Regions from separate parts of the Homo sapiens genome. Here region 1 is linked to region 2. Evidence: promoter capture Hi-C in human tissues and cell types (Jung and others, 2019). All regions are on one chromosome and are shown on one strand. The core of a region is centred on a gene start or on the middle of the fragment in contact, and the rest is flanking DNA. Distances in the headings are between cores, read along the strand shown.

Region 1 (5,069 bases), core at 2,570-5,069, 240 kb after region 2:
ATTGCACCATTGCACTCCAGCCTGGGCAGCAAGAGTGAAACTCGATCTCAAAAAAAAAAAAAAAAAAAAGCAGTAGTTGCTAGGGGTTCAGGAAGAAAGAGGGAGGGTGGAGCACCAGAGATTTTTAGGGTGTTTAAACTATTCTGTATGATACTGTTTTGGTGAAAACAAGTCATTTTACATTTGTCAAAACCCATAGAATACAGCACAGAATGAAGCCTAATGTAAACTATGGACTTAGGTTAATTGTGATGTATGAATATTTGCTTGTCAATTGTGCCGTATGTGCCACACCAATGTAAGATGTTAATAATAGGAGAAAGGGAGGCCAGACATGGTGGCTCATGCCTGTAATCCCAGCATTTTGGGAGGCTGAGGTGGGTGGATCACGAGGTCAGGAGTTCGAGATCAGCCTGACCAACATGGTGAAACTCCATCTTTACTAAAAATACAAAAATTAGCCAGGCGTGGTGGCGTGTGCCTGTAATCCCAGCTACTCAGGAGGCTGAGGCAGGAGAATCGCTTGAACCCAGGAGTCGGAGGTTGCAGTGAGCCAAGATTGTGCCACTGCACTCCAGCCTGGGTGACAGAGTGAGACTCCGTCTCAAAATAATAATAATAATAATAATAATAATAATAATAATAATAATGGGAGAAAGGGGAAAGGGGGATGTGAAAGTGTATAAAAGAACTCTGGGCCGGGTGCAGTGGCTCACGCCTGTAATCCCAACACTTTGGGAGGCCAAGGTGGGCAGATTACGAGGTCAGGAGTTCAAGACCATCCTGGCCAACATGGTGAAACCCTATCTCTACTAAAAATACAAAAATTAGCTGGGTGTTATGGCAGGCACCTGTAATCCCAGCTGCTCGGGAGGCTGACACAGGAGAATCGTTTAAACCCAGGAGGCAGAGGTTGCAATGAGCCGAGATCGTGCCATTGCACTCCAGCCTGGGTAGCAAGAGCGAAACTCTGTCTCAAAAAAAAAAAAAAAAAAAAGAAACAAAACAAAAAAAACTCTGTACTTTCTGCTCTATTTTTCTTTTTTTTTTTTTTCTTGAGATGGAGTCTGGCTCTGTCACTCAGGTTGCAGTGCAGTGGCGTAATCTCGGCTCACGGCAGCGTCTGCCTCCCTGGTTCAAGAAATACTCCTGCGTCAAACTCCCGAGTAGCTGGAATTACAGACGCGTACCACCACACCCAGCTAATTTTTGTATTTTTAGTAGAGGTGGGGTTTCATGTTGGCCAGGCTGGTCTTGAACTCCTGACATCAGGTGATCCGCCCACCTTGGCCTCCCAAAGTACTGGGATTACAGGAGTGAGCCACCGCGCCCGGCCTCTGCTAAGTTTTTCTATAAACCTAAAACGGCTTAAAGAAAAAATCAATTTTGGCCAGGCGTGGTGGCTCATTCCTATAATCCCAGCTACTTGGGAGGCCGAGGCAGGAGAATTGCTAGAGCCCAGCCTGGGCCACATAGACCCCATGTCTTTATAAAAAAAGAAAAAAAAAGAATATTTTGTCAAACCCAATGTCATGAAATGATTTTCTCCGGCATCATCTTCCAAGAGTTTTATAGTTTTAACTCTTACATTTACATCATTGATCCACTTCGAGTTAACTTTTGTATGTGTATTAATTAGGTTGAGTCCGAATTCATTCTTTTTTTTTCTTTTTTTTTTGAGATAGAGTCTCTCTCTATTGCTAGGCTGGAGTGCAGTGGTGCGATCTCGGCTCACTGCAACCTCCGCCTCCCGGGTTCAAGCGATTCTCCTGCCTCAGCCTCTCGAGTAGCTGAGTAGCTGGGACTACAGGCACGTGCAACCATGCCCAGCTAATTTTTGTATTTTTAGTAGAGACGAGGTTTCACCATCTTGGCCAGGATGATCTCGATCTCCTGACCTTGTGATCCGCCTTCCTCAGCCTCCCAAAGTGCTGGGATTTTGGGCATGAGCCACCATGCCCGGCCCGAATTCATTCTTTTGCATGTGGATATTCAGTTGTCCCAACACCATTTGTGAAAAAGACTTTTCTTTTCCCATCGAGTGGTCTCGGCATCCTTGTCAAAATCAGTTAACCATAAATGTAGGGGTTTATTTCTGAACTATATTCCATTGGTCTGTGTCTATGCTGTCTTGACTACTGTAGCTTTGTACTAAATTTTGAAATCAGAAAGTGGGAGTGCTCCCAATTTTGTTCTTTTTCAATATTATTTTGGCTGTTAAGGTTCCTTGAATTTTCTTTTTTTTTTTTTTTCTTTTTGAGACAGAGTCTCACTCTGTCACCCAGGATGGCGTACAGTGGTGCAATCTCAGCTCACTGCAACCTTCGCCTCCCAGGTTCAAGCGATTCTCTTGCTTCAGCCTCCTGAGTAGCTGGGACTACAGGCGCACACCACTACGTCCAGCTAATTTTTGTATTTTTAGTAGAGATGGGGTTTTGCCATGTTGGCCAGGCTGGTCTTGAACCCCTCATCTCAGGTGATCCGCCCGCCTCTGCCTCCCAAAATGCTGGGATTACAGGTGTGAGCCACTGCGCCCAGCCAAAATTCAGAACTTCTGTTCTCCTAAAGACTGGTAAGAGAGTGAAAAGACAAGCCACAGACTGCAAGAAAATATTTCCAAATTACACATCTTGCAGGATTTTTAACTAGAATATAAAGAACTCTCAAAACTCAATGACATTACAAACAACTCAGTAAACAAGCAAAGATTCTAAGACACTTCACTGTGAAAGCTATACAGATGAAAGATGCCTAATTAGTCAGTAGAGAAATAGCAGATTAAAACCACAATGAGACACCCCTACACGAGTACTAGAATGACTAAAATAAATTAATTGAATTATTGATTTTTATTATTACTATTTTTTTCCTAGACGGAGTCTTACTCTGTCTCCCAGCCTGGAGTGCAGTGGCACGATCTTGGCTCACCGCAACGTCCACTTTCTGGGATCAAGCAATTCTCCTGCCTCAGCCTCCCGAGTAGCTGGGATTACAGGTGTGTGCCACCACACCCAGCTAATTTTTGTATTTTTAGTAGAGATGGGGTTTCACCATGTTAGCCAGGCTGGTCTCGAACTCCGGACCTCAAGTGATCTGCCCGCCTCGGCCTCCCAAAGTTCTGGGATTACAGGCATGAGCCACCGCGCCCAGCTAAATTATTTCTCTAAGCTGTGCCAAACTGAGTACCAGAGGAGATGAGCAAGCGCAGGTCTCATGCCTGTCGGTGGGAATGCAGATGGTGCAGCTGCCTCGGCAAATTGTCGGGTGGTTTCTCAGGAAGGAAACATGTCCTTACAATACGACCCAGCAAAACCACTCAAAGGCATTTACCCAAAAGTCATGAAAACATGTTTACACAAATGCCTGTGTGCAAACGTTTATATATAGTGGCTTTATTCATAATTGTGCAAAATGAAACAATACACACGTTTTTCAGCTGGTAAGTGGATCCACAAACTGAGGTGTGTCCATGCAGTGAAATTACCACACAGCAACCAAAGAAGTGTGTTACTGATACTCCCAGCACCACAGATGAGTCTCGAAAGAAGCTAGACTCAAAACCTCTGGAGGGTGCGATTCCGTTTATACCACATTCTAAAAAAGGCAAAATTGGCTGGGTGCAGTGGCTCACGCATGCAATCCCAGCATTTCGGGAGGCCAAGGTAGGTGGATCACCTGAGGTCAGGAGTTTGACACCAGCCTGGGAATCATGGTGAAACCCTGTCTGTACTAAAAATACAAAAATTAGCCAGGCATGGTGGCTGGTGCCTGTAATCCCAGCTGCTCGGGAGGCTGAGGCACAAGAATCGCTTGAACCCAGGAGGCGGAGGTTGCAGTGAGCTGCGATCGTGCCACTGCAATCCAGCCTGGGCGACAGAGCAAGACTGTCTCAAAAAAATAATTAACTAAATAAACGAGGCAAAATTACAGTGACAGAAAACAGATCAGTGGTTGCTGGAGCTTGGGGTTGGGGAAGCTTGAACACAAAGATGCTGTTTGGGGATAGAACAGTTTGCTGGATTGTGGCTAGCTGTGGTTACATGCCTGTCTGCATTCTAGGTAAGAAGTAACCTGGGCATAGAGCAAAAGCCCCCCACCTGCTCCCCGCCCCTCCCTGCCTGGGTTGCTGCAGCGCTGTCTGGAAGTTGGCGAACATTGTTCTTATTTGTGGTTTTCATTTCTTACCGTATACACATACGGTGTGTGTATAATTAAGAAGATAGATGGTTTTATGTGTCCATTGTTTACATAAATGGTACAATAGTATGGTTTTGCAACTTGATTTTTTTGTCTCAACATTTTGTTTTATAGTTCTATACTTGTAGATCTGTTTTAACTTTCTGATAGTTTACTTCATGGTTTAATGATTTGTCCCTTACTAGTCAGAATGTGTTTTAGTTTTATTGTTAAAACACACCGGGCTGGCTGCGGTGGCTCTCGCCTGTAATCCAAGCACTTTGGGAGGCTGAGGCAAGGAGATTGCTTGAGCCCAGGACTTCAAGACCAGCCTGGGCAACATGATGAAACCCCTGTCTCTATGAAAAATACAAAAAATTAGCCAGGCTTGGTGGTGCACGCCTGTAGTCCCAGCAACACAGGAGGCTGAGGTGGGAGGATCACTTGAGCCTAGGAGGTCGAGGCTGCAGTGAGCCGTGATTACGCCACTGCCCTCCAGCGTGGGCAACAGACTGAGACCCTGTCTCAAAAAGAAAAAAAGAAAAACTGCGTGTTGCCTCAGTGCAGACCCTAGGCAGCCTGTCATGGCAGTCCCAGTGAGACTGCCTGGAATGGACCCTTGGAGGGTATGGCACTACACCTTATTAACTGTTGCTAAACTGTCGCTGAAACACACATGTCCGTTTACATTCCTGCCTCAGTTTCTGTTTCCCCAGGCCCCCGCCGTCTCTGTCTCCTCACTCCCCGCCGTTTGTTGCTGCCTCAGCTTCTGTTTTCCCCACGTCTTTGCCGTCCTGTCGTCTCACTCCCCGCCGTCTGTCCCCACCGTTCATTCCAGCCTCGGTTTCTGTTTTCCCCAGGTCCCTGCCCTCCCGTCGCCTCACGCCCACCAC
Region 2 (5,514 bases), core at 1,816-4,315:
TGGGTGTGACGGGACCCGCTGGTTGGCTGCTCTGTTGAGGATTGACTGGGGGTGGGGGGCCCAAGGCTGTGGCACCAGTTCCAGCAGGACAGGGCGGGTTTGGGCCAGAGCAGCCTTGGAAAGCCATGGTTGGATGATGGGAAGTTTCCAAGACAGAGCTGGCAGGACTTTCTGATGAAAACAGAAGAGAGCAATTGGGAACAAGACCACATGTCTGTACCCCAGCAACAGAAAGGGTGGTGACAAAGGCAGTTGGATTTACCCCACAAAGTCCTGGAGCATTTGGTTGAGACATGGGGGTAGGCGCAGATGCCTGATGTGCTTAAGAGAGAACTCGGGGAGGGAAATTGGAGAAAGAGTTCCTGAAGAGTGACGCTGTGAAGACAGCAGAGAAGCACAGGGTCCAGCGAGCTCTTTCTGTTCTGCTCCATCCTCAAGGATGGGCAGACCCTCTGCCAGTTTGTGAGTGACCAGAATGATCTGCCAGAGAGGCACCCAATGGCCCTAGGAGGCCCTAGTGACTGGGTGGGCAGGGAGGGCGGACCGGCACCCTGGGGAAGGTTGGGGCACCCTCTGGGGGGGACAGGGGCCTCCCCTCTACTCCAGTCTGCTTGTGCCATGATTCCTGCCTCCCTTCTTTACAGCTCTGCTAAGGAATACGTGCCTGTATGTAATATGTGCACACCCCGAACTCACACCAGGACAGCACACACTGCCAACACCCTAGGCTTCTTTGGCCCCGATGCCTCCACCCTCGGGCCTTGGCTGAGTGAGGTCCCAGGAGGGTGCAGGTGGGAGACCTGGCTGGCTGCCGATGGGCCATGGATGGCCAGTTTGGGCATGAGAGGAAGAGGGTGCAGAGGACTCTGGGGTCTTGCCTCAGGACTGGCGGTGGGGGGTGGGGGGTCCTGGGGTACACAGCAGACTCAGGATGGCCTGGGGAAGCCATCCGGCCATGTGGCATTTAAGCTTCCTAATGACATTCAGCAGAAACAGAGCTGGACACAAGAGCCCAGGGCTCAGAGTCAAGGTCCGGGCACCGCTGGCACCCACCCAGGAGAGTAGTGGGAAGCCTAGGGGTAGGGTCTGCACCTCCTTGAGGAGGGGCCTGGGGCCTGGAGTGAGTTCTGAACTGCAGCTTACCACTCTGCCTCTTCCTGAGGCCACCACACTCAGCCCAGGACTGTTCCTGGCCTGCTGGCCACCCCCTGCCCCTTGCACCCCAGCACCAATACCTTGCCCCTGCCCTCCTTCTGGGATGATCCTCCAGTCCTCCCCTCCACATCTGGGGCCTGCCTCCACCAACTGAAAACTGCAGTCAGGGCTCTTGTGGAGGGCCAGCACCCCAGTACCCCAATCCCAGGCAGCCCTCTCCAGTGGGCCCCTCCCCTGCACTGGGCCACCCCATGGCTCCACGGAGCCCTCCCTGCCTCCCCTCCCCCGGGGGCAGCAGTGGCCACATTTAGTCCCTCCCCTTCACAGCAGCATGCCTGGGAATGCTGTACACATTCACATGTCTGCTGTCTGTCCTCCTCCCACCCGGATAACGTGTCCACCCAGTGCTGGAGATCTCAGCAGGCCCCCAGCCCTTCTCAGGCCCCTCTCAGCAGCGGACTCAAGCCGCTTCCCCACGTGCTGCACCATACCTGGGCCCGGGGCCCCCTGCCTGGTGGCTGCTCCCGGGGTCCAACTCTAGACTTCACGGGGACAGTCGCAGGGTCACTCCCTCAGCCACCACCTCTCCAGACGGGACGAGCTAATGACTCCCGACTCCTGCTCCATGCCTGCACCGCACAGCCTCGCAGCGAGTGCCCCTGGGCCTACGGGGCCTCCCCTCTCGCCACCAAGCCTCCACACTGCGCGGTGCCCCGCCGCCCGGAACCACAGTGGTCTCGCTTCCCACCCAAGACCCAACCTGCCCTCCCGTCCTGGGCCGCCAGCCCAGAACCCGCAAACCGGGAGACCCTAGGACCCCGCGTGCCTGCACGTCCGCCTCACCCCCGCACGCGCCCTCGGTCCTCGGATCCCGCCCTCTCAGGACAGTGCCAGTCCCACGAAGGCGCAAATGCCGCCCGTACTGCTCCACCCTGGCGGAGGGCACCCAGGTCGGAGAGTCCGCACGTGGGTGCCCTGTCCGTCCTGATGCTGAACATAACCTAAATACAAGCCTAAACATGACCAGACCCGAACCCCTGACCCTGACCCCACCCCTAATCCTGACCCTAACCCTAAACCCAACCCTAACCCTAAACCTAACCCCTAACTCTGACCCTACCCCTAATCCTGACCCTAACCGTAAAACCAACCCTAACCCTAACCCCTAATGCTGACCCTAACCCTAAATCCAGTCCTAACCCTGACTCTAACCCTAACCCTGACCCTAACCCTAAAACCCAACCCTAACCCTAACCCTGACCCTAACCCTAAACCCAACCCTAACCCTAGACCAGACCCTAACCCCTGACCCTGACCCCACCCCTAATCCTGACCCTAACCATAAACCCAACCCTAACCCTAACCCCTAATGCTGACCCTAGCCCTAAACCCAGTCCTAACCCTGACTCTAACCCCTAACCCTGACCCTAAACCTAAACCCAACCCTAACCCTGACTCTGACCCCTAACCCGACCCCTGACCCTAACACCGACCCTTAACCCTGCCGGGAGGGCGCTCAGTCCCGGCTCCCACAAAGGACAGCAGCACCCGTACTGGACGGCACCCCCGGAGGGACCCGGGCCTGAGGACTCTGCTGCTCCAGCGCCCCAGCTCACGATCGTCCAGGACCCGTCGGGTCCCTCAGCACAGCGCGGCCCTGTCGCTCTCCTGACCACGCCCCTCATGGCCCCGCCCTATGCCTCGCCCCTGGCCCTCGCGCCCCGCGGCTCCCTCCGCCGAGTCCAGGCCCGACGCGCCTGCGCCCTCTGAACACGCCCCTCCCCGCCCCTATCCCCACCCCTTACCGCCTGGCCCCGCCCACGCCCCTTGCCGCGGGGTGGGAGCCCAGACGCACACCGCGCATGCTCCGAGCGCGGCGCCCCCGACGCGGCGCTCGGCTCGGCTCGGGCATTTCCGCCTCTTTGTTTTAAACTCCGGACGGGCTTTTTTCTCCTCCTCTTGGGGGGGACCCAGAGGGAGCGGCGCCCCCTCCCCCCTCCGGCGCGGACCCCGCGTGCGCCTTGCTCGCCCGCAGCCCCGAGACCGCAGGTCAGTGAGTCCGCCCCGCCTGGCCTGGGCCCTCGGCGCCCGCTCCTCAGGCTGCGGCCTCGGCCCGTGTCCGGCCCGGAAGGCTCCGAACCCCGGGCCCGCGCTCCGTCGTCCCCGTCGGCCTGGCCCGGGAAGCCCTTGGCAGGCCCGGGAGGGCCGGCACCCCAGCCCAGTCAGGACTCCGGGAGGTCGAAGACCCCAGCCCAGGCAGGACTCCGGGAGGGCCAAGAGCCCAGCCCAGGCAGGACCCCGGGAGGGCTGGGACTCCAGCCTAGGCAGGACGCAGGGAGGGCAAGACCCCAGCCCAGGCAGGACTCCGGGAGGTCGAAGACCCCAGCCCAGGCAGGACCCAGGGAGGGCTGGGACAGCAGCCCAGGCAGGACGCAGGGAGGGCAAGACCCCAGTCCAGGCAGGACGCAGGGAGGGCAAGACCCCAGCCCAGGCAGGACTCCGGGAGGTCGAAGACCCCAGCCCAGGCAGGACCCAGGGAGGGCAAAGACCCCAGAACAGGGAGGGCCAAGACCCCAGACCAGGCAGGACCCCGGGAGGGCCAAGACCCCAGACCAGGCAGGACCCAGGGAGGGCGAAGACCCCAGCCCAGGCAGGACCGCGGGAGGGCAGGGACCCCAGACCAGGCAGGACCCCGGGAGGGCCAAGACCCCAGACCAGGCAGGACCCAGGGAGGGCGAAGACCCCAGCCCAGGCAGGACCGCGGGAGGGCAGGGACCCCAGACCAGGCAGGACCCTGGGAAGGTCGCGACCCCAGCCCAGGCAGGACCCAGGGAGGGCGAAGACCCCAGACCAGGCAGGACCCAGGTGAGGGCGAAGACCCCAGCCCAGGCAGGACCGCGGGAGGGCAGGGACCCCAGACCAGGCAGGACCCTGGGAAGGTCGCGACCCCAGCCCAGGCAGGACCCAGGGAGGGCGAAGACCCCAGACCAGGCAGGACCCAGGTGAGGGCAAAGACCCCAGCCCAGGCAGGACCGCGGGAGGGTAGGGACCCCAGCCCAGGCAGGACCCTGGGAAGGTCGCGACCCCAGCCCAGGCAGGACCCCGGGAGGGCTGGGTCTTCAGACCAGGCAGGACCTGAAGAGAGTTGGGCTCTGGGATTGCACAGGACCCCCAGAGTGCTAGGACACAATGACACATCATCCAGGAGGGTCTGACCCTGGGACAGGTCACCGAGAAGGGCTGGGACCCCAAGATGGGTCACCAAGGAGGGTCGGACCTGGCCACCTGGCAGGGCCCGGGGGGGCTAGGACCCTGGGAAGAATCACGGAGGAGGGCCAGACGTAGGGACCAGGCAGAATCCAAAGAATGCCAGGACCCCAGAATAGATCCCCCAGGAAGGTCCTGCCTTAAAGTGGGTCACAGACGAGGGCCAGGACCCCATGACCATAATTCAGGAGGACCTGACCCTGGAGCAGTCTTGTGAGTCCTGTGAGCACTGCTGGGACCCTGAGACTGCCCCGTCTCCCCCGGGACCCTGAGACAGCCCTGTTTTCCCCTGGGGGCCGGGACCCTGGGACAGCCTGTTTTCACCCGGGGGCCGGGACCCTGGGACAGCCCTGTTTTCCCCTGGGGGTCGGGACCCTGGGACAGCTCTGTTTTCCCCTGGGGGTCGGGACTCTGGGACAGCTCTGTTTTCCCCTGGGGGTCGGGACCCTGGGACAGCCCTGTTTTCCCCTGGGGGTCGGGACCCTGGGACAGCTCTGTTTTCCCCTGGGGGCCGGGACCCTGAGACAGCTCTGTTTTCACCTGGGGGCCGGGACCCTGAGACAGCTCTGTTTTCACCTGGGGGCCGGGACCCTGGGACAGCTCTGTTTTCCCCTGGGGGCCGGGACCCTGGGACAGCCCTGTTTTCCCCTGGGGGTCGGGACCCTGGGACAGCCCTGTTTTCACCTGGGGGTCGGGACCCTGAGACAGCCCTGTTTTCCCCTGGGGGTCGGGACCCTGGGACAGCCCTGTTTTCCCCTGGGGGCCGGGACCCTGGGACAGCCCTGTTTTCCCCTGGGGGTCGGGACCCTGGGACAGCCCTGTTTTCCCCTGGGGGCCGGGACCCTGGGACAGCCCTGTTTTCACCTGGGGGCCGGGACCCTGGGACAGCCCTGTTTTCACCTGGGGGCCGGGACCCTGAGACAGCCCTGTTTTCTCCCAGGGCCCGGCACCCTGAGACTGGACAGTGAGAAGGGCTCATGACATGGACAGGCTTCTAGATGACCAGGACCTCAAACGGGGTCACTTAGGGTCGGGACACTGGTGTGGACTGGGAAGAAGGCTAGGCTCTCAAAGAGGACCTGATGAGAGCTG

Evidence for each region. Contacts are between HindIII fragments. The study calls those that stand out against the background at their distance.
Region 1: a contact is called between a fragment that was not itself captured here and the fragment with the promoter of PCGF3 in region 2, in 1 of the 25 tissues and cell types used here (lymphoblastoid cells).

Annotation. Positions count from the first base shown.
Region 1 is chr4:940,400-945,468 of GRCh38, forward strand. The region is part of intron 1 of TMEM175 (transmembrane protein 175); the gene reads left to right. Among named protein-coding and RNA genes, the nearest start is that of TMEM175, 10 kb to the left of the region's middle. RefSeq lists an enhancer at 4,737-5,069. The HindIII fragment of the contact is 4,192 bases long and covers 1,724-5,069 here.
Region 2 is chr4:702,767-708,280 of GRCh38, forward strand. PCGF3 (polycomb group ring finger 3) reads left to right here and starts at 3,066. Exons shown (of 11, transcript NM_006315.7): 1 at 3,066-3,204. RefSeq lists enhancers at 1,086-1,813, 2,854-3,839, 3,840-4,824 and a silencer at 2,789-3,488. The HindIII fragment of the contact is 34,476 bases long and covers 1-5,514 here.